Linked DNA regions of Homo sapiens: region 1 is linked to region 2. Evidence: promoter capture Hi-C in human tissues and cell types (Jung and others, 2019). All regions are on one chromosome and are shown on one strand. Each heading gives the region's core, a stretch centred on a gene start or on the middle of the fragment in contact. The rest is flanking DNA. Distances are from core to core; before and after follow the strand shown.

Region 1 (2,794 bases), core at 197-2,696, 440 kb after region 2:
GACCAGCCTGGGCAACATGGAGAGACCTTGTCTCTACAAAAAATAAAAATAAAAATAAATTAGCTGGGGCTGGGCACAGTGGCTCATGCCTGTAATCCCAGCACTTTGGGAGGCCAAGGCGGGCGGATCACAAGGTCAAGAGATGGAGACCATCCTGGCCAACATGGTGAAACCCCGTCTCCACTAAAAATACAAAAATAAGCTGGGCGTGGTGGCACGCGCCTGTAGTCACAGCTGTTCGGGAGGCTGAGGCAGGGGAATCACTTAAACCAAGGACGCAGAGGTTGCAGTGATCCAAGATTGTGCCACTGCACTCCAGCCTGGTGACAGAGGGAGACTCCGTCTCAAATAAATAAATAAATAGGCCGGGCGTGGTGGCACTCACCTGTAGTCCTGGCTTCCCAGGAAGCTGAGGTGGGAGGATGGCTTCAGTCCCAGAAAGTCAAGGCTGCAGTGAGCCGTGATCATGCCACTGCACTGCACTCCAGCCTGGGCAATACAGCCATAACCTGTCTTAGAAAAAAAAAAACAAAAAATACAGAGTTCTTGCCTTTAAGGTGTACAGTGCAGTGGGACAAGCAGATACAACTGGAGAACCACAATTGTGATTGCAGTAATTAATATACACAATATTACAGGATTACAGAAAAGAGGTACGTCCCCTATCCTAGAGGGGATGGAGGAAGGGCATAAAGTACATTAATGACGATCTGTAATTCAGTTGTTTAAATTGAGCATGGGAGAGGGTGTTCAGGCCTCTTCGACTGGATGACTTTGTAATTTGGGATAAAACACCCAATAACTTGGCCGGGTACCAGGGCTCATGCCTGTAATCTTAGCACTTTGGGAGGCTGAGGCGGGCAGATCACTTGAGGTCAGGAGTTCAAGACCAGCCTGACCAACATGGTGAAACCGTCTCTATCAAAAATTCAAAATTACCCAGGCATGGTGGTGCATGCCTGTAGTCCCAGCTACTCGGGAGGCTGAGGCACGAGAATTGCTTGAACCCGGGAGGTGGAGGTTGCAGTGAGCTGAGATCGTGCCATTCCACTCCAGCCTGGGCAACAGAGCAAGACCCTGTCTCATAAAAACAAAAACAACAACAACAAAAACCCAATAACTGTAAAGTAAAATATGTCAACTTGTGACTAAGGATTCATGTGGAAGAAGAAAAGCGTCTAATATCATAAAGGAACATCAAGATTGTGGGGTTAGAGCTAGAAGATGTTGGTTTTATTTTAAAATTTCTGTCTTTTTTATGTTCTTCCCTGCCTATATCACAGAAAATCAAATATAAGAAATGAATTGCCTGCAAGTGGTGGTTTTTAAACTCTTCTCTCTGATATAGTCTCTGTTAAACTTGGGAATAAATAAAGGTACCATCACCAGACTAGGGGAAGATTAGCATTGTTTGAGGTTAGGATTTAAAAAAAACAAAACAAGGCCGGGTGCAGTGGCTCATGCCTGTAATCCCAGCACTTTGGGAGGCCAAGGTGGGCGGATCACCTGAGGTCAAGAGTTCAAGACCAGCCTGACCAACATGGTGAAACCCCGTCTCTACTAAAAATAAAAAATTAGCCGGGCATGGTGGCGCATGCCTGTATTCCCAGCTACTCGGGAGGCTGAGGCAGAAGAATCGATTGAACCAGGAGGTGTAGGTTGCAGTGAGCCGAGATTGCACCGCTGCACTCCAGCCTGGGCAGTAAGAGCAAAACTCTGTCTCAAACAACAACAATAACAACAACAACAAAAAATTCACTAGATTTGCAATCACTGCCTTCATATAAGATTAAAATATGAAGAAAAACTCAAGGTTAACTGCACTTGAGGTTTTCTAAATTATGGGATTGAAGGGGTCTATATAATTTTAAACATTAAAAAAAGTTTAATCTTTACAACCCTGTGGTCCCCTCCATTTTATAGCTGAGAGAATTGAAGCATGGAGGTTTAAAAACATGCCCAAGATCATACAGCTAGTAAGTAGCAGAGCTGGGATTTGCACCCAAGTCTATTCAATTCCAGTGCCTATTACTCACCATATCATCCTGTCAAAATAGAAACCTTGTGTGGGCCCATTGCTCTCAAGATGTCCTGTGGCCATAAATGCACCCTGGCAGGAGCAAGCTGGTATAGACAACCAGTAAAGTGTATGGCCGTGCCAGTACAAAGCCAACACTGCTCCTGGAAAATATTGATAGTGCCATATTCAACTAATCGTCAAATTTTAATATCATCGATGCCACTGAAAGTATCTTAATCATTCTCATGAATATTTTGTAATATGAGACATTGAGAAGATAAGACAGTATTGAAATAAATATCTAGATTTAAAAAATATAAAATTTGAATGATTAGTAGAGGGAAGCAGAGGATAGTAAATATGTGTGAAAATAATAACATAAAAGTTAACTTTAGATATATTATCTTTAAACACTGCATGTGCAGTATACCAATTTATATCCTCTTTAATATTATAGTCTTTTTCATGTGCATGTGTGATATATTGTCCATTCACCAAGACTATAATCCCTGAGTCCGATAGTGTATTTTCTTTTAAAAAGAAATCAACATTAAAACAGGAAAGATTATCTAAGCTTACTCTCAAGTAGTTTAATACATTTGAGGAAATAAATTAGGTTATGGATGCTTATAAGCGATATAAAAAATCAAATTAACACGATGTAGGTGATTTATTCCAAATTTGATCTGTTACATTTGGAGGAATTGGTTGTTGGATTTAGAAGTGTACAAAATACCATTAGAGAGTGAAAAAAAAGGGAAGTCTGTTATAACT
Region 2 (2,876 bases), core at 112-2,611:
CAAGAGTGAACTCTGGAGGCCTGAGGCCATGTGGAATCAGGCCTGAAGTGCCCTCCTTTACCCTGTGGCACCAAAGCCTGCTTCAGATGGCTGGGCCACATCCTGCCGGTCTGCCAAGAAGAGCTTGGGGGCACTCTGGCCACAACAGTCAAGCATCCTGGGGGCCTCCTTCCCATTAAGGCCCTCAGGTTTCGCACTTATTTCCCCAGAACTTATCTGTGCCTTCCACAGCCCACATGGCCCCGGGCTGGACTTCCAGGGGCTTTGTTCCCTTCTCAGCTGCGGTTTATTTGTTTACTTTTGAAACACGAAGTGAGGCCAGAGATGGGAAACTTTGAGCTTTTGCATGCTTCTCCACTCGGTCTCCTCACTGGAGAGGGCTGGCAGTGCTCAGAATGGTGCATGCCCCCTGCTCCTCACCGCCACCCATGCTCCAAAGCCAGGATGTGAGTCTTGCAGAGCTGCAGACAGCCCCTAAAGGGTGTGCTCCCAATTTGAGCTCATCTGACCCAGTTAAGGAGCCAGAATGGGAGAAGCATCTGCCACTCATGAGCTCTGGCTGGGGGGCCCCTGCCCTCCCCCTCGCCCCCAGTCCTGATGCCCTTCTGGGCGGCTTCAAGCAGCAGCTGCAAAATGTCAGTGCAAGAGGCAGAAGAACCAGGGCGAGCGTGCAGGCTCCGGGTGATAGAAGCAGAAGGAAAGTCTAGAAGCGCACGGAGCAAGGGGCCACGCGGTGTCGCAGGCAGCGAGGACAGCCCAGGCTCCCAGAGACCGCAGCCGGGTGGAGGCGTCTGCGGGTACCAGGCGACGGGCCAGGGCGCACGGCGAGGCCACCCACCTCTTGATGTAGCTGCTGAGGCGGTAGAGCTGCCCGTCGAGGCGCACGAGGCCGTCACCGAAGACGTTGAAGCCCCCCCGCGCCGCCGCCGGCTCCCCGGGCCTGGCCACCACGAGCTGGTCGCCGCTCAGCTGGAAGGCACCGGGCTGCAGGCGCAGCAGCTGAGCCAGCGGCAGCAGGGCCAGCTCGCAGTCGCAGGTCCACAGGCTGCGAAGCTCCCCAGACGAGATGGAGGTCAGGCTCGGCCTGGCCACCGGCTCGCAGGCCGCCCCCGCCATGCCCGCGTCGTCGGTCCTCACACCGCCTGCTTCCGTCCGGTGCCTACAGCCCCCAGCCGGCACCTGATGGTCCCCAGGAGGGGCCGGGCGCCCTGCCTGCGTCAGCCGCGCGCGAGGTGAGGAGGGGGTCGGTCTGCCCGCCTGGCCGGGACGCGGTGGCCGCTCAGGTGCCAGTCTGACCGCCCGGGCGGCCCCTCCCAAGCTGCCACTCGCTGGGAGCCCTGCAGGCACCGCGCGGAGAAAGCGGCCCCGGCGCAGCGCGGCCCCTTTTATCCGCCCTCTGGACGCCCGCCTCGCCCCTGCCGGCCCACGGCCACGACCCCAGAGGCTCGGGGCAGAGTTATCATCGTCTCATAACTTGGCATGCTCGAGTCTGCTCGCAGGCAAGGCTTAGTCATCCCCCTGGGGTCCACTACTCAACACCAGCGCTGGCCCCCGCCCTGCCTGGCGGACACTGCCGGAGGCTGGAGGTGGGGAGAGTCCTCCCCGGGTTCCCAGGCCCTGCCTATGGTGGGCGGCAGGGCGCACAGCACCCATCCTTGCCTAAGACACCACACCCCTGGTGTTGATTGGAGAAGAAGGCAAGGGCTCTGGCCCTACCCATTCCACCTGGGACCCAGAGGCTGTCAAAGGCCAGTGCTGGAACTCCGATCCCCACCTCAGTACCAGACCTCTCACTCAGCCTCAGTTTTCTGCCATTTTAACTCCATCCAGATCGTACCCTGCATTTCCCTCCTTTCAGCCTTTCCTTCAGCTGGTTGCTGGCCCTGGATCCCTTCCCCCTAGAAATCCCACTGATCATCACATCGCTTTTCCATAAAGCCTTCACGAATCCCACGAGGGTTTCATCGCTTTGCTTCTCCTTTCTACTGCACGGTGAACCCTAGACTGCAATGTGCCGTGTAGTGGGGATAGCAGGGTCCTAGCATCCTCCCTTCTCCCCTGCCTCCCCAGTAGGTGGTGATCTCCTTGAGCCCCAGAATATGTTCATTTCTTCAGTCTATAAATATGTGAGTGCTAGCTATGGGCTCATTGATCTCCTGAGGTATGAAAGGAGAACTATATTATTCCATTTAATTAAACACCTATTTCTGCTGCGGAGAAGCCTGGATGGGATGGGAGGAGAATCTAGCCTAGTTTCGAGGCTTTCTGTAGTACTGTGTTTTAGGATTCTAAGCTACATCCCAAAAGTTGAGTAGAACGTAGAGAATATCCTTAGTTAGTCTTTGTGTGCCCCCACATGAACTCTTGTGTAGGTTTAATCAGATGGGATGAAGAGTCCTCCCGCCACATCTCATTTAAATCTCAGAATATAAATGAGCCCCACTCTCTTCTCTTCTTCTAGGTGCACACCTATCCTTTCTCCAGACATGGATCTTTTACCCATGGGATCATTACCCCATCTCTGGGCCTCTCTGAACAAATCTAATTCACTGAGCATGAATTGATCACTACCCACTCAACCTTTTGTGGCGCAGGAAGGATGCTCTACCTGTGAAAAAAGCATCCAGAAGATCTTCTTGCAAAGGGAGGTTTGAGGATCCCTGCAAAGAGAATGGGTCTGGGGTGGGCTGAGACTGTAGACAGGACTCAGAGGCTGGGGCTGTTTTCACAGGGGAGGGATTTGGTGCCAGCAGTTAAATCCATTGTGCCCTATTTAGAACTTCACTCTTGTCCCAAACATTGACAGAGTCATCACTATGCACCAGGGACCATCTTAAGCTCTGAGGTCACACACACACACACACAAGGATCCAATA

What was found. Contacts are between HindIII fragments. The study calls those that stand out against the background at their distance.
Region 1: a contact is called between a fragment that was not itself captured here and the fragment with the promoter of MEDAG in region 2, in 1 of the 25 tissues and cell types used here (dorsolateral prefrontal cortex).

Annotation. Positions count from the first base shown.
Region 1 is chr13:30,467,202-30,469,995 of GRCh38, reverse strand. It overlaps a transcript of HMGB1 not described here. Among named protein-coding and RNA genes, the nearest start is that of HMGB1, 2.7 kb to the right of the region's middle. The HindIII fragment of the contact is 6,825 bases long and covers 1-2,794 here.
Region 2 is chr13:30,904,756-30,907,631 of GRCh38, reverse strand. It overlaps MEDAG (mesenteric estrogen dependent adipogenesis), which reads right to left and starts at 1,361. Exons shown (of 5, transcript NM_032849.4): 1 at 839-1,361. The coding sequence starts at 1,116. All of the region lies in intron 2 of TEX26-AS1 (TEX26 antisense RNA 1), which reads left to right. RefSeq lists an enhancer at 259-760. The HindIII fragment of the contact is 12,319 bases long and covers 1-2,876 here.